Linked DNA regions of Homo sapiens: all the other regions are linked to region 1. Evidence: promoter capture Hi-C in 16 types of primary human blood cells and fetal thymus (Javierre and others, 2016). All regions are on one chromosome and are shown on one strand. Each heading gives the region's core, a stretch centred on a gene start or on the middle of the fragment in contact. The rest is flanking DNA. Distances are from core to core; before and after follow the strand shown.

The links. Contacts are between HindIII fragments. The CHiCAGO score rates a contact against its expected background, and 5 or more counts as called.
Region 2: a contact is called between the fragment with the promoter of GOPC here and the fragment with the promoter of SERINC1 in region 1, in 2 of 17 cell types (non-activated CD4 T cells and total CD4 T cells). The highest score is 6.7, in non-activated CD4 T cells.
Region 3: a contact is called between a fragment that was not itself captured here and the fragment with the promoter of SERINC1 in region 1, in 1 of 17 cell types (activated CD4 T cells). The highest score is 5.8, in activated CD4 T cells.
Region 4: a fragment that was not itself captured here is called in contact with the fragment with the promoter of SERINC1 in region 1 in 1 of 17 cell types (total CD4 T cells); the score reaches 6.9 in total CD4 T cells.
Region 5: a contact is called between a fragment that was not itself captured here and the fragment with the promoter of SERINC1 in region 1, in 3 of 17 cell types (non-activated CD4 T cells, fetal thymus and total B cells). The highest score is 11.9, in non-activated CD4 T cells.

The regions. Positions count from the first base shown.
Region 1 is chr6:122,470,094-122,473,512 of GRCh38, forward strand. It overlaps SERINC1 (serine incorporator 1), which reads right to left and starts at 1,714. Exons shown (of 10, transcript NM_020755.4): 1 at 1,606-1,714. The coding sequence starts at 1,644. It also overlaps a transcript of PKIB not described here. RefSeq lists enhancers at 1,364-1,763, 1,814-1,873. The HindIII fragment of the contact is 8,379 bases long and covers 1-3,419 here.
Region 2 is chr6:117,600,993-117,604,411 of GRCh38, forward strand. It overlaps GOPC (golgi associated PDZ and coiled-coil motif containing), which reads right to left and starts at 1,519. Exons shown (of 9, transcript NM_020399.4): 1 at 1,012-1,519. The coding sequence starts at 1,296. It also overlaps the pseudogene NEPNP. RefSeq lists enhancers at 1,401-1,490, 1,621-1,910. The HindIII fragment of the contact is 3,398 bases long and covers 1,165-3,419 here.
Region 3 is chr6:119,072,567-119,075,985 of GRCh38, forward strand. All of the region lies in intron 1 of FAM184A (family with sequence similarity 184 member A), which reads right to left. Among named protein-coding and RNA genes, the nearest start is that of FAM184A, 4.4 kb to the right of the region's middle. The HindIII fragment of the contact is 266 bases long and covers 1,547-1,812 here.
Region 4 is chr6:125,777,357-125,780,775 of GRCh38, forward strand. It overlaps TRE-CTC1-7 (tRNA-Glu (anticodon CTC) 1-7), which reads right to left and starts at 2,962; the gene lies at 2,891-2,962. RefSeq lists a silencer at 2,813-3,082 and an enhancer at 3,037-3,419. The HindIII fragment of the contact is 156 bases long and covers 1,474-1,629 here.
Region 5 is chr6:119,349,893-119,353,311 of GRCh38, forward strand. It overlaps a transcript of MAN1A1 not described here. Among named protein-coding and RNA genes, the nearest start is that of MAN1A1, 1.8 kb to the left of the region's middle. RefSeq lists a silencer at 1-429. The HindIII fragment of the contact is 276 bases long and covers 1,546-1,821 here.

The DNA.
Region 1 (3,419 bases), core at 464-2,963:
TAGTACCAGCTACCTGGGAGGCTGAGGTTACACTTAAGCCCAGCAGTTCCAGGCTGCAGTTCACTACGACCATCCCCTGCACTTCAGCCCGGCCAATACACTTAGACCCCCATCTCTAAAAAACTGCCTCACTGCTTCTACCTTTTTAATGTACTTCGCTATTAACACAGAAACTAAAAGGCAGGGTCAATTTTATCACGGACATTCTTCTAATCAATAAAGGTGGCGATCTATTTTGTAAAAGGGAAAACATGTATCTCATCTTTTAAATCTCTATTATATACAAAAAACTACAGCACGCCCACTTCATAACTGGACAAGATACGACATTACAAATTGAATTGCATAACATCTTCCAATAAAAAACCGATGAAAACAATCTTATATGATAATCAATTATCAGTTTTCAAAACTGTTTATCACACTAAATATGCCTCTTTTGTATAAAAGTCAATAATTAAACTCTCTAATATCTTGAGATAAAATATTCCAGGCTTCCGTGCAAGAAGAAATACCATATAATCAAAAGAACAGACTGGCTGGAGTAACAATCCCCACATTATTATTTGATTAAAATTCAACATTTTTAGTTCAAGACATATCAAAACCTTTAAGAGTATATATAACGGAATCATTTGGGAAGTCAGAAAAGCAATTGTTAGAAACAGAATTAACAAATTCCAGACTAAAGAAAAGTGATTTGAGTCCAAATACCTCGCCTAAAATTACAAATATCTTTATTAACTGCACTGCCAATGTTTTGCCTACTATTTTGGAGGGGGCAGAGATTATCTTAAATAAACTGAAATTTGTGCCACACGGACCAAAGTCTTGCCACTATACTGAAAATAGTTTTACTCTAACAACTCTTTAATGAAAATGCAATGTACAGCTAATTAAGCATGAAATTTCAGATGACACACGCATGTTTTGTGCCTAAAGACAAAATTGTCATTAGGCACAAGGCATGCGTGTGTCATCTGAAATTTCAATTTTAAGTTGAAATCTGAAATTGACACTTCAAACAGTTACGGCAGAGCTATGACTATTTGTTTCAAAAACAATATTACTACATTAGCATTACTGCCAGGCGGTTCCAAATGACGACAGGCACTTTTTAATCATAATCTGCGCCACTGAACAAAGAGGGCGACATGAATCCAGGAACGACAGTGCGGCAGTCTGAGGTCGCCAGGAAAGAGATGACAACAGAGTGGGTACCCCACCGAAGGAAAGGGGCAAAGACCTTTGTAGAGATGGCCTGCGCAGATACAAACAAAACCACGAAAAGGGACCTCAAAGAATGGGAGACAGCGTTCACGAAGCAGGGGTGGGGGAGGGGCCCTATTCTAGTTCTCTTCCTCAATTTGAGTCATCTTCCCATCGCCACTAAACCTTACGGCCAGTGATCAGTTCTTCGCAAGACCCAAAGCTCTGAAGCTGAGTCTGAGTGACGAGAGGAGACGGGAAGAAAACGGGGACAGAGAGGGCACTCCCTGTTGGGTGGGGCACCACATTCCCGCCGGGCTCACCCAGCCCCGGCTCGGATCGCCTTCTCTTTGGTCTCTCACACTAGCACCCCAGAGGCCGCAAAAAGCACCTTACCCAGCTCGCCATGGAGCACAGCCCCAGGACGCTCCCCATCTCCACAACGTCACAAGAGCAGCGGATACAGACAAGATGGAGACAGCTTCTTTCTCGCCTTTCCGAGATTATTTACTATCTGCGAGACACTTCCGGACGCACAGCGCAACCCGCCCCTCAGCCTCGCGTCACTTCCTTCCAGGCCTGGGTAGGATAAAACACGGAGCGCGCAGCGCTGAGACTGCGCATGCGCGTCACTAGACGACACGGCTGTCTTCTTTCCTGGAGAATTTCTCAAGGACTGCTGGCTGGAAACTTAACGGCTAATGTGGATCTGACCGTAGTTTGCCAAATTAAGAAAACGGTGTGAGCAAAACCCACCTTTACCTACCATGCACTTGCATTTGGGCATTAGTAGAGAACAGAGCTGAGGTGGTGGTTGACGTTTTGCCCTCCTTCATCTGAGGAACCTCTCTGCTTTTTAGGGGATTGCTTCCTCTTTCTCAGTCTTTGTCCGTCCTAACTCCACTTATTTCCCATTTTTCCCACGTTTGCATCCTGTTTTGCTCTTGCGTTTGCAACGTATTCCTGCAGCCCGCTGCCCGGAACAAGTTTTATTGGGATATTTATATTCATCTGTGTGCTTCAGTTTCTCTGTATCATTTCTGTTTGCTATTGACTTATATTTTAATTTCTTATGCTATTAAGATGTTACAAGAAATTTGCACGTTAAAATTATTTTTAATTAGTTAGATAAGACATTATCAAACTCAAACATTGATTTCGAATGTCATGAGCTGTTGAGGCATGTGGAACCCTTGCATATTAGGTGATGATGCACATCTGCAGGGAATGCATTCCTATAAAAGTTCCAGTTATTTTTTTAGAGTTATTTGTTCTTGAAAATATTCTGGGAAACAGCTCAAACTTGAAATAGTCATTCCCATAACTAATAATAAGAAAGTGTTGTAAAATCTACAAAAATTGCATGGGTCGAGGTGGGGTAAACACCTAAGAATCTGGAAGAATGTCAGAATCCCTACTCCTAGTTATTGTAACCACTAAGGGACAATCTTGCTTTATTCTTCTTTGCCTTATCTGTGGTTTTGTAGACCACTCTTAAAGCAAAGTATTATAATAGAGCATCCATAAGGTTTAAAGAATTGTGGAAATGCTTGTAATCCCAGAACTTTGGGAGGCTGAGGCAGGCGGGTCACAAGGCCAGGAGTTCAAGACCAGCCTGGCCAGCATGGTGAAACCCCATCTCTACTAAAAATACAAAAAATTAGCCGGGCATGGTGGCACGCGCATGTAATCCCAGCTACTCGGGAGGCGAGGCAGGAGAACTGCTTGAACCCGGGAGGCAGAGGTTGCAGTGAGCCGAGATTGGGCCACTGCACTCCAGCCTGGGCTGCAGAGCGAGACTCCGTCTCAAAAAAAAAGAATAGTGGAAATGGAAATTACAAACCTAACAATATTTTTAATTATGCTAAACTTAATACGTTATTTATGGGAGAAGAGAATCCTAGTATCTCAAGTCCTTAAACTTTTCAAAGTACCAGAGAAGGAGACAAAAAACACTTATATGTGAGTAACTTTAAGGTCGTAAAGAATATGTTTATTAGCCAAATGGAGAATGGGTCTCTTAAAATTTAAATTTGCACAGATTCTTGTCTCTTGCTCCATTTAAGAGGGTTTCTGAGATATTCATAAGTTCTTGCACTATTCAATAGAGTTTTTTCACCTGAGATATTCAGAGTTAAATACAAAAGTCATATTAATCTTTCTGGAATGTAACACTTGGCCTTGAAATACATTAAAAAAAATTTACTTTT
Region 2 (3,419 bases), core at 269-2,768, 4.9 Mb before region 1:
TGACATTCATATTGATATAGATATAATGGGCACTGTCAATGACAACGAGTAATGATGATTTCTTAGGAAAGCATGTTCAGAGTTTTGCACATCACTGATTATCCCATTTTTATCTATTACACTTTTTGAAAAGAAAGACCCATTCTCTTAAATTGCCTAGTTAGAAAGTACTCTTTATGCAATAATGTTAATCTATCTTGATTTCTAAATATTTTAATAATGTCCTTTTTAAATTTTCTGCACAATATGATATTTTTGTTTTTTTGAACCACAGCCACTCCACCCTCACCCACACCCAGGATCAGAGATTAAAGCAAATGATTCTTTACACTCTCTCAAAAATAAATCCAGACTTTGGAAAATTACACAGTAATGTACAAGCATATAAAAACTCAAGGTCAGAAGTAATTTCAATAATTGCAGGGAGCTCTCTGGAGGTATCTGCCTGTAATTTAACAACCAACTATGGATGTAAACCGAGACAGTGATACTATCGTTATGCACCACGAAATTTTCCTAAGAGCTTTGATCAGATTCCCCTAAATAGTTTATGCATGTCTCTGTATGCAATCATAGGCGCTGACCTGGAATAATTAAAATGAAAATAATCAGTGCTGTATCTGTCTTAACATATACAAATTCGGTTTATCAATGTGAAAGCAGATCTGCAAAACTCAGTTGTCAAAAGGTGGCCTACGGTATTTTCATGACAGAGAATCTTTGTTAGGTTTGTTAATGTAACATGTGCAATGGAGGCTGGTGTATGTAATTAGTTTCCTCCTCAGAGAGATACTAGGAAGGTGGACGACAGTACCCCGGGAACTCACACGTCGGTCTAGGGCCCTTTTTGTCCCCCACCCTCACCTCACTCCTCAGACATGCACTCTCCCATCACATTTGAAGCCCCGGTGGGCAGTTTTCTAGGGTCGTTTCACTGGAGCGTTAAATGGCATCTGACGCCACCGGGCAGCCTGGGGTTGGATGCCATAGCCGCCAGCACCCACGGCTCACCTCCAGCTTGTGGTTGATTTGAGACACAGACTGGGCTTTGTGGCAAAGCTGTGCAAAGCAGGAGCTCAGGCTGGTCATCTTCTGTCGCCCCTCATAAGTGATGTCCGCTTGGTCTGGATCGATCTCTCCCAGGAGCAGATCCACATCCACAAAAGCTTTGTCGAACTCCTTCTCCAGCACCTCCAGCCACCGGAACATGGATACCCCGCCAGGGGCCCCCACGGAGCAGGAGGCGCCCCCTGGGCCCCCTCCGGCTGCTGCTGGGCATGGACCGCCCGCCGACATGGCGCCGTCAAGGGCCTCTCCCGACTGCTGAAGACCCTCGCCGCCCCCCGCGCACGAAGGGAACTGCTGGGACTGAGGGGACCCCCGCGCGCGCGGGCACACTCCGTCACCTCCCTTCACCTCGCGCCGTTAACGCCAGCAGCACAGTCACAGAACCGCAGGAGTAACGAGGCTGAAGCTGAGGCGGCAACGGCGGCGACACACGGAAGACTCAGTCAGTCCCACCTCCCAGCCTGCCCCCGCTGCGCATGCGTAGCGAAGAGCTGGGCGGACGCAGCCACGAGGGACAAAATAGGCGGGGACAGGATGCGATCTTGGCCTATGAAAGGCCTCAGCTTGGGAGCGGCCTGTCAGCGGCCATATTAACAACTGGCAAACTACGGCTTGAATCCCTGAGAAACGGAGGCGCGTGGTTTCTGCACCCTGGTTGGAAAGGCCCGAGGATGAGAAAGGTGTCCACGTCGCAGAAAGGAAGGATTTCCGCCGGTTTGACTTAACAGTTGGCGGGAGCCGTTCCAAAATCCTCCCAGAAAGTTGCTGCGGTGGCATCTAGGGTCAGGGAGGGGAGAGCAAGGAAGGGCGGTGTGAGCATGCGCAATAGCCACGTTTTTACCTTCTCGATTCCAGTTCCTGGATAGGATGGAGTGGGTGTACACACTGGCTGTTCTTGGTAAACCAGACCCCAAATTCCAGGTGTGGACTGCCTAAAGCTGCGCATTGAAGCGGCTGACCAGATTTTGCGGAATTAATAGAAGACTTTTTGTCTTGTGATTAAGAGTCAGGTAGACCTGGATTCAATTCTTACCCTCTGTCACATACTACCTGTGTCGCCTTTCATGTATTAACCTCGAAACCAAGTTTCCAAATTTTACTTAACTCAGTTGTAAGGTAAAACGCTTAGCGTCACTTCTTGGCACACGGTATTCCTCTTAATACACCATAGGTCACACATTTCAAAAGCAACTACAGTAGTGCTTCACTTAAGATGGGGATATGTTCTTAGGAATGTGTCCTTAGGTTAATCATCCCTTAGGGAACATCCTAGAGTGTATTTAAACACAAACCTAGATAGTATAGCCTACTACACACCCAGGCTATATGATGTAGCCTATTGCTCTTAGGCTGTAAACCTGTACAGCATGTTGCCATTCTGGATACGGTAGGCGATTATAACACAGTGGTAACTATTTGTGTACTTAAACATATCTAAACATAGAAAAGGTACAGTCATATACTCTTATAGGATCACCATAGTTTATGCGATCCATTCATTGCTGAAGCCTTGTTATTTGGCACATAACTGTACTTTAAAAGGTGTATTTATTTGAAAACTGGTAGTGTCCTCACACGTGACATTTCAGAAAATCAAAATTGTGAATTCATATATTTACAAATATATTGAATGCAGAGCTCTGTTGCGACATTGAAGACACAAAAATGAATGAGACATGACCCTTACTCAAGATAGGCTAGTGAGGCTACTACCCCTCAACTATAACTTTAACTTGAATTTTTCAGTGCCTTTAAAAGTATCCAGCAACTCCTCTCTTTACATTCTGCCTACTTCCAGTTCAAGGGTAGACAGTCCTAGAAAGGGAAAGAGAAACCTGTGTGATTAGAGTAGGCTGGTGGAAACTCCTGCATTACCTAGAAGCATATTTAGCTGAGTGCAGTCTGCTGTTATCTGTTCTTGGGGCAGACCCTTACGGTTAATCACAACCCAAAGCCTGCATTGTGTGCCCTTCGCTGATGCAAGGCAACTGAGGAGCAAGAAATCACAATTTTATTATTGCAGTCTTTGTACTGCATGGCAGACTGGTTAGCATGAAGCAATAAAGTCCTTTGGCTTGAGCAAACTTAGCTAATCAAAATGGATCATGAGATCCTGACCTTAGACTTAAGTAGGGACCTTCATACAGGTTTTAGTACACAATAAATAATGTAAAACTAAAATTTACATCTTTCCCCATTCCCTTCCAAAATTAGCTTTATTTTCATCTACAATATTTGCAAAAACATTGCTACAGCTATCAAGCTCCCAGCCACTTTATCTACACATAATACAGTTAGCAATGCATTTTCAGGAACGCGAAGTAAATAATTTAAAATTAGCAGGGCAGGGG
Region 3 (3,419 bases), core at 430-2,929, 3.4 Mb before region 1:
AAATTCACTGGTTTTGGTGTTATATAAACACATTCTGGTTTTGGATATAGTAAAAGCAGAGTTAGTATAAAATGACTGATCACAAGGCTTTTTTATATTTGCTAAGAAACTAGTATATTAATTACCTACATTCTGAAGTGTCAAATACTTATAATGTAGACAAAGAACATTATATTTGTATTTTTTACATCAAAAATACATTAAGAAATAAAATAGCTTTTTGAAGCAGTTTAAAGGGCAGTCAATAAACATTTACATATTTAGGAATAATTTAACTCAGCTGAAATGATCTATCATTAACCCAGAAGAGTAGCAGATACAATTCCTAAAAAGTACTGTCTTTCTCTGCTGTATAACAAAATTACTTGCTGTATCATTATGACCACCATCTTCTTCAGTAAATACTTATTAAGCTTTGGTACTATGTGCAAACCATTCATATTAAGGTTACATGTAATAAAAGATACAGTCCCTAGAGCTGAGAACCTTACAGTCAAATTATGAAAACAAAGTATATTTATAAACACAATAAACAGTATTTGCAAGTTTGCATTATTAAGTATCAAGTAAGAGGTACCAACAATCAATGCTAACGCACAGCAAGGAAAGCCCAACAAGGGTAGCTGGTCAGGACAGTTTTAGTAGAAGAGCCATAAGCTGGGTATTAAATAAGAGGACTTGATGCTAAGCACAGAAAACACAAAATAAACTACTTCCTGCTGTTTGGGAACTTACACTGTACCATATATTACTTATGTCTATACTAGTTAAGTGATAAACAGACTCTGTATCAAAAGTGCAATCAACTAAAGAGGGATTTGATAAGCAGCTAACATAACAAGGTATTAAAAGGGAAGTTTCTGCTGAGAACCAGAGACGATAGAAATGACATTCCAAAGCAGCTGCCAGAACATTCTCGAAAATGTCAAGAGGCAGTCTAAAGAAGAGTGCTGAGATGTGTTACTTTCCACCCCCACCACTAGTGAGGTGGTGCTTCAAGAAGATTACAGAGTAGGTTTCAGAGATTTCCCTGGGGAGAGCTGTGGTAACAGGGGCCTGTGTCTTCAAGGGGGAAGGGTGGAAGATGCTTGTCCCACACCTAAAGCCTAGGGAAAAAGGCTTTGAGGGAATGACTTGAAGAACTTGACATGTGCCTCAAGCACTTTGAAGAACATGCTAACCTGGTACCTGATTAATCCCCAGAAAATCTAAATGATGAGAAGCTGCATGAAGAGGCATGTGAGAACAAGAGAGAGGGCTGAACTGGGACCACTAGCAGAGTTTGTGCAAAGAATGAGTGCTCCCTATGTGGCCTCTACGGAAGAGTGAACAACCTGGGGTGGGATCACACAAGTCCATGCAAGAGGGGTATCTAGAGTTTGCACAGACCTCAGCAAAGTGGAGGTGAAGGTACTGCTAGCTCCAAGAGGCTGAGGAAGGAGTAAGCAACCAATCAGCGCATAAGGGAATTCTCACTGTCAAGGAATTGAGGTGAAAATCTAGAGCCACTGAGGTGGGAGGTAGAAGATTCACCAGTGAAAGAATAAGCTTTAAACATCTGCAACGGCTACAAAAGCACTGAAACTAGATCACCAGCTAGCTTCTTCACTAATCAAGTAAAAGTTTGCTGCTCCTCTTTACTCTTTTCACTTCTTCCTTGACCAACTTTGGAAGGGTGAGAAACCAGAACTGGCAAGACAAAGCAGGAAGAGTAGAAAAACCAGGTAAGAAGTAAAAAGGCAATAATACCCCCTTCCCTAGTTACTGGTTTCCCCCTTGCAAGAGACAGAGCAAGAGACCAGTTAAGGGAGAAGCTTCATCTTTATTTCAGGCTTGGTCTGCAGTTTTTACTTGTTGGTACTGGGCATTTTAATTTTAATAATCAAATTGAGACTTTTGTGACTTTGTTACTGAAGGATGATTTGTATTATCTAAAAGCAACCAGAAAAATTAAGTTAACCCATGAAAGAGGATGAACCAGTCTCAAAGAGTAAATTGAAAGAGACAAAAAGGGAAAAAAAGTAATTTGAAAGTGACAAAAAAAAAGCTTTTATAATTACATCCCACAAGGCCTGCTTTTCAACCTGATATCCTGAAAAGTCAACACAGTGGAGAGCACAGAAGTATACAAATGTGGTCTTATAAAACATAATTGAATCCATCCAGCTTCACTGCCTATCTTGAGATAGTTCAGCCATTAACATTTGCAGAAACTTGCCATAATGTAGCTCAAGAATCTAATATTAATTCTTAAAACTTGACACGAGTGACCCAAATATGCTAGACTTCCTTTAAAAGGCAGGGACTGTGTCTTGCTCCCTGCTGTATCTGTAACATTTTCCAAAGTCTCCCTTACATAAAAGGTGCTTAAAGAACTGGTGTTCTCCTTACCATGAGAAGGCAGCTATGTTAGGCTCTTAGGAAATAGGATATGAACAAATATGCATACAGCAAAGACTGCTTTTTAATTAAAAATATATTGAGCTTTGCTATGGGCAAAATTATAATCTTTATTACTTTTCATGCTTATCCTTTCATAGCCAGCCAAACCTTTGAAACATGCACAATGTATTTTCAGAACATTCTACCACAATGCAGAATAAATGTGAAACCTTTAAACTTTGATATTCGAAGGAGAAAAAAAACTACTATATATACATTTTTAAAGAGTTTAGCAGAAAACCCTCAAAATAAGTACACTATCACACAACGCTGTTAAATGCAGAATGGTTTAAAAGGAGAGAAGCATTTTTAAAATATCCATATTTTATTAATACTCATATTGGTATATGTCTTTTCAGTGAGTGACAGCCTGAATGAAGAGCCTACTATGTGCCGCTACAACTCTGTAAAATAGGTACTATCATCCCTATTTTAAAGATGAGGAAACTGAGGCTCAGTGTTTCATGGCTTGCTCAAGGTCACAATAGTAGTAAGTGGTGGAGTGAGAATTTTAACTCAGTGTGTCAGGTTCCCACACTGCTCTTAAGTGTGCTGCTGCTATAATGCTGAAGAGTTGAGTTCTACTGACTTCTTTCCAAAAGAAATAAAATCCAATTTTAATTGTTACATTTACAGTGTACAATTATGAAATATTAGCCATTGTCAAGTTCCAACCATAGTTGGAACACACCTCTGCTAATATGAATAAACTCTTCATGAGTAAAAATTCTATATGGCAGGCAGTAGTAAAGTTCATAACAGTCCCTCTCTCTCTATGTTTATATACACTCATGATGTCATGCTTATGGTATAGTATTTACAATAAGTGTATATGACTATAAAATTTGACAACTTTCAAAATGGTGTATAAAGAAAGCAAGTCTTATATGTTTGTAGAAACAGAAAGATGTTGGCTCCAACAGAGTCCTATTATCAAACTGTTTCATTCTCAGGCCTCATCTTAGTAAATAAAAGCA
Region 4 (3,419 bases), core at 302-2,801, 3.3 Mb after region 1:
AATTCACAGTCTCTGGCTCTGGAATAACAGATCTTATTTTCATAAGATCTCTTTTTCTTCGCTATATTCGCCCTTCTGCAGCGTGTAGGTCATAAATAAGGTTGTTGTCTCTCACATTAGTCCCTCAACACCTTGAATCATGTTTCTGGCAATGATCTCCTGGATAGACTTCCTTACTGTGGTATGGGCTCCACCAGTCTGTTCTGTACCCAACAGTCACTGTCTTACCATCTGACTGTGCTTAATCTCCTCCGTTTTCTCCTTGATCTCTTTACAGTATGCTCTTTTCTTCACCGCTACTTCCTTCTTGAAGCTCTCTTATCCTTTTATTACTACCTCTCTGACTACTCTTCCTTTTTTTTTTTTTTTTTTTTTTTTTTGAGACAGAGTCTCTCTGTCGCCCAGGCTGGAGGTCAGTGGTGCGATCTTCTTGGCTCACTGCAAGCTCCGCCTCCCACGTTCACGCCATTATCCTGCCTCAGCCTCCCAAGTAGCTGGGACTACAGGCGCCCACCACCACAAGGGCTATGTATTTTTTTTAGTAGAGACGGGGTTTCACCGTGTTAGCCAGGATGGTCTCGATCTCCTGACCTCATGATCCTCCCGTTTCGGCCTCCCAAAGTGCTGGGATTACAGGCGTGAGCCACCGCGCCCGGCCCCTCTCTGACTACTCTTTCACCATTTTCTACCTCTTCCCCTTCTTCTTTAATGTATACTCTCCTGGGTTTTTTCCTTGGTCCTCTCTCCTTTTTATAGGTTTTTTCTTTGGGAAGAGCTCAAATCTTCTCAAACTTTTAAGTTAATGGCTCCAAAATCTCTCCCTTCTACCCTAATTATCACCAAAATTCCCATTCTGTATTTCCAACCACATTTAGTTGTGCTGCCTCTGTGGGGCTCAAACTGAACTTACCTTCTCTTCTTCATCAGTTTCTCCATCTCAACCTTCCTATTACTTTTAATGCCACCCCAGTTTTACTAGCCACACAGAACAAATCAAGGATTCATAACTGATTCCTCCCTATTCTTAACCCTTTATATCCTATCAGACATCGAGTCCTCTTGGGTTCCCTTCGTAATTTCTTGACTTGTCTTAAGGTCTTCCATAATCTAGCTGCAGTCACCTATCTGCCCTCATCTCCACTGTTCCCCAGCGCAGGTTCCCTACTACAGCCAGTCTGACACAGTTAGTCCTTTTCGTTGCAAATACTAGACCATGGTCATCCTGGATCCCTTAGAAGCAATGTCCATTCTCCTTTTCTCAGGCATTCCGGATACTTCTAGCCTTTAGGTCCAGCTTGAAAAACAGTTTTCAAGCTCTATTTTGATTCTAGTGCTCACTTCCTTCTCCCTTCTTTTACCATATATCGTGATTATTTGAAGTACTTGATATGCAGCAAATAATCAATGAATGGTGCCAATTATTTTTGTTAATGGTGGCAACATATTTTTGTCTTAATTATCCAATGAAGTGAAAGCTTCTTAAGCACCAAAAATCACATCTTTTCTTAACCCCATGGCACCTATCACAATGGACTTCCTGGAACATTAAGTACTCAGCATTCTCCTCTTCCCAATCAGTCTCAGCACAGCTAAAAGGAGAGCAAAACAAACTCATTTTAGTTGCAATCAAGCTTTCAGTCTGTTTCTATGCTATGATGAAATTTCTCCTTAAAAAAAAAAGGCGGGGCCGGGCGCGGTGGCTCACGCCTGTAATCCCAGCACTTTGGGAGGCCAAGACAGGAGGATCACGAGGTCAGGAGATCGAGATCATCCTGGCTAACACGGTGAAGCCCCGTCTCTACAAAAAATACAAAAAAAAAATAGCCGGGCCTGGTGGCGGGCGCCTGTAGTCCCAGCTACTCGGGAGGCTGAGGCATGAGAATGGCATGAACCCGGGAGGCGGAGCTTGCAGTGAGCCAAGATCGCGCCACTGCACTCCAGCCTGGGCGACAGAGAGAGACTCCGTCTCAAATTAAAAAAAAAAAAAAAAAAATCCAACAGCTCAGTAAGTGGCAAAGGTTAGGATGGTTTAGAACTTTCAGGATCAAAAAAACCCTTAATGTCTATATAACACTATTTTTCTTTTTTTGACTCCAACATTGCCATATTTTCCTTTGAGGAACTCCCAGAATTCTACTTTACCCTGAATGTGGGAATTACTAATGATAAGTAGGTGCATTTTTGAGGGGCCTATATGGTTTATATAGTGGGAATTGATACTCTGGATGTAACACATTTACCATATTTGTGTAAATCTCTTAGAGAAAATTTAAAGTTAGCCAAAAAAACATTAACTAAATGGGTTATTAAAACACAATAAACTAGCTATGTCCAACCATACATCTCAGAAAAGATCTCATATTTATAGAGATGAGAGTAGGAATAGCTCCAATATAGGCAAATAATCTCCAAAGTACATAATCTTAATGTACAGAAAAACTAAAAATTAACTCTAAGCATGATACTGAATAAGTATTATTCCTCATAAAACTATCTTCCTCTTTTATTAGTCAAACAAAATCAAGGTTAAACAAAGGCTTAACTGACTGCTTGTAAACACATCCAAATTATTTTTAAAAACTGAAAAATACAATTTTAGAATCACAGAACTTTATGTTATTTGATTGATTATAAATTACATTACCTGTAAATAGAGATGGCGTATTTTAAGCCTTAGATTAAATAAACTTTTAAAACGGTCAATTTTTAATGATTAAAAAACCCCAACAAGCGAATGAAAAGTACATAAAACTTATGATTTAAAAAGAAAAAAAAAACTATAAAGAAAAAAAAAAACTATGAAAAAAAAACCCAACCAGCAAGTGAAAACTACACAAAACTCTTGACTTCTAAATTGCATGAAGGATACGAATGTCAAGAAAAACAAGACTTCCCTGACCGGGAATCGAACCCGGGCCGCGGCGGTGAGAGCGCCGAATCCTAACCACTAGACCACCAGGGAACTTGCACAACGCTTCTTCCTAAATATATTTGTTGTGTTAAAAATCTGCACTTAATTCCTCTAACCAGTAGGGGATAGAGTATTGCGTCTAAGCCACACCCACTTTGTTCTTGTTCTGAGTCCTGGTCCCTGAATCTATTTCCTGAAATTGAAGCAAATTCTCGGAAGCGCCGGGATGGCCCCTTAAGGAAAAAACCTATACCCTCCAAATCTAATCCTCTTCCTATTGCCATGCTGGAAAATATATCCTGGAAATTCTCATTCTTTACGTAACATGTAAATCTCTTTACCAAGACAAGTGTTGTCTGGACGCGTACTGTCCAGAGCCTTGTAATTTGCTTTATTATTTTATTAACCATTTTAGCTGCTCTTTCCAAATCTAAGTTCTGTCCCTCTCCGTCTTTCTTCGTTCTCTGTCACGCGGATGTTAAGTCCCTCTAAACATTTTACTAAATCT
Region 5 (3,419 bases), core at 434-2,933, 3.1 Mb before region 1:
GCGGGGCGGGGAGTTTACGGGAAGCGCAGCCTCGGCGGGGCCCGGCCGGCGGCGGGGAGGTCGCGGGGCCGGGAGGCGCGAGGTAGGCGGGAGCCGCGGTGAGGAGGACGGTCGAACCCGTGGCTGAGGCCCAGCGCCGAGAAGCGGCAGGCAGAGTTCGGGGTCGGGGAGTTTATCCTGCGCTGGCCTCGGCAGGGGTCCCCGGGGTGGTTGATCCTCGACTGGCCCGGGAGGCGCCTGGGTCCGCGCGGGACCTCTCTGCCTCCTCCTCCGACCCGTGCGGGGCGGTCGGGGGCGCTCCCGAGGGGGTCCCGGGAAAGGCGGGGTCTGGCAGGGGGTCCTGGGCGCTGGGTCGTTCAGAAGCACGGCTTTACTCCAGTTACCCTCTTTTTATCCAAGGCCGGGGTTCCCCGGGTGCCTGGTAGCAGTGAAACCCCAAGTCCCTCGGTTAGGGGAGCCGTGACCCTGGGAGCTTTTGAGCTCTCTGGTATAACATCCTTTTACATCCTAAGAGACACAGTTCTGTGCTTGCTTAGGACTTTTTTCGTATGCGCCCTTTCTTCCCCCAAAAAACAAAAAACCGAAAAAACTTGTATGTCTCTCCCGCCCACCCGTACTTTCACTATTCATTTACCTCATAGAAGTTGGTCAAATTTTCCATTCGAAGACGAGTTTTATGCTGCGGTAGCTTCAAGCAATAAGTCGAACACTGTGTTGAAATTAAGTCTTGGATCCGACTACTTCCAGCGAAGTGAGGAGTTGGTCCAATAGAAATTATTTTCCAAAATGTGTTGTAATTCTCCTGTTGCTCCACAAATAAGGGGTTATCAGAGAGGAAAACGTTGACTGACTTCGCATTTCTGAAAGCTGGTTTGTAGTCGCCTTATTTCATCCTTACCCTTCTCTGGAAATGTGACATTAGTTCTGTTTGTGCTTAAGACAAAGGAAACAGCTGGCACCTTTCGGGAAGGTGGCTCCAGTACAGTTGTTTCCAGGTGTTAAGCTGTATGAGAAAGTAGAAAAGTAATCAGAAATCCTTACTAGTTTTCATTTAATCATTTAATTATTAATTTTAACCATCATTATTTGTCGTCTACTTGTTTTGTGTAAAATGAGTAATACACTCAAAGTTCTTGTTAATAGGAAATTATTGTTTGATAAAGCTGGCTTTATGGCTTGGTTATTTTGATACCTGCTATGAAATTCTATGTCCAGAAGAGTGCAGCATATCCAAGCAGGGTAATAAGTTCAGAAGGACTGAAAAAGAAAACAAAGATGATTTTTCTTTAATGATGGAAAGGCAATTTTTATTTCAAACGATTATGCATTTGTAGGTTGTGCATAGGCTGAAAGGTTTGAATCACTGTGAAATAATGTTTCTAACAACATCCTTAAAACTGAGTTACCTCTTGAATGGATAGATAAATAGGAACTGGGTTAACTACCCCAAACGCTAATCTCTTTATGATCATCCTTTTTTGGAATGATTTATTATTTTAAAAATTATGTTGTAAGAATGGAATTATAGCCCCGGAAATATTTAGAAGCTTTATTTCAAATTAATGTTATTAAGTATTCCAGCAAAACAATAAATTCCACTTTTAAGTATATGTTAAAATGGTGATAAATAAAAGTTATAACTTAATTCTATTTCTGACACTTTAATTTTGATACCAAATCAGTTTGGGCATTTAACTTCTGTAGTGGAAATATTAAAAATTTAGTACGTGGGTTTAAGGATTTTTTCCCCTAAAAACTTTAAATTTATCTATGTTGTTTCTACATCTTTTAAAGTAACTATTCTTTTTAAGTTCATCATGAAGCTTATTTTAAGATTTTTTTCTTATTTTCCGTATTTCTTAAATGACAGGGTTATACTTGCAGCCTGGCTTTGATAATATGTTAAACAAGAAGTTAACATGGGTGGTTGATTATAGGTACATATTAAAGGGTGTCTGTGTACATTAGGTGGGATAAGAACTATATAGGAACACCAATATTTGGGCCAGAGCAAATTTGAAAAATTCACAAAGAAGGTATCTGAAGAGGCATAGCAATCGAATTATGCATCCTCTTTAAAATAATCACATGAAGCCCTGTGTGCTCATGGTAAGGGAGGAGTAGAAAATAGTCAACAAGTAAAATTGTGCATTTTGTAGAAGCAAAATCGGACACTTTCCTCTGATTTCAGTACTACAAAGCACTTGACATTCTACCATTGAAAAAAGTACTTTGTACCCTGAGATAAAAATAAAGGTGATTGGTTCTTGTCTTTTAAGTAATGAAACCTTGACTTTGTCCCCTAAGTCAAGACTCCCTAGCCACATCTACCTGAAGGTAATGTCACCATCTTTATGAATGCAATGATAGTGCTGAAATTGCTGTTTCTCATTATGGATGGTCTAATGTAAACCTAAGAACCTTAGTAATTTTGTGGGATTTTTAAAAAAATACTTGCTATGTTTTTTTATTTGGCCAGCCAGTCCTTTTGAAGTATAACTCTCTTGTAATTTTTGCAGGTTTGCTTGCAAACTTAATTCTTACATTTTCCTTTTTCAATACTTAATGTTTTTGTGTATTTCTTTGATAATTTGTAAATTTTTGTGTTTCAAGATTATATCTTTGAATCAAGTAATTTTTTAAAAACCTGATCATCAGTGATACCACAAAACACTACAAAGAAATCCCCAAATAAATGTTGTTGCTTAGATTTTTCTACTTTCAAAAGAAATTACCAAAAGGTAGATTTAATTTTTACATTAACATGCCTAAAATGAAATATAGTAATAATTATGAGCAGACTTACAGAGGAAAAATTGGCAATATTTTTATAAAACTGATAAATTTATATTTTTATAAAATTATAAGTTCTCAAAAATTGAAGTGCAAAAACATTTCTTAGGAAGTTTCTAGGCAGTACTAGTTAGAAGTTTGTGGAAGAATCCTTTTGAGGATTTTTGTTCTCTTACTTTAAATAAAACTTAATCTAGTGAAAGAAATGAATTTAATCTACATGTACAGTAAATAATGACTGAAATTCTCCAACAAGTTAGATTTCTGATAAAATCTTTTAATGGGAGATTTTCTAGGTCACAATAGGTCTTTGCTCTTATTTTTTAAAAAATCCAAATGTAATACGTAAAAAATGATTCATTGTGAATATTAATCTTGAAGTTTCAATACTTCAATGGGCACTCTCAATTTTACATGAGATATATTAAGGTGGAAATTAACCAGAGTTTTAAAGGAAACTATCGGTGTTATTTGTATGCAAATTGGAGTCTACTGTTATATTTCTGATTCCATGTTTTTGCTCTTCCTCAATTTACTTTGGAACTGCCTGAGTGGCAGATTATTTTTATAGAATTCCAATCACATTTTTTTGAGGGGGCGTGGGTGCCAGGGGCAGTGAGGGCAGG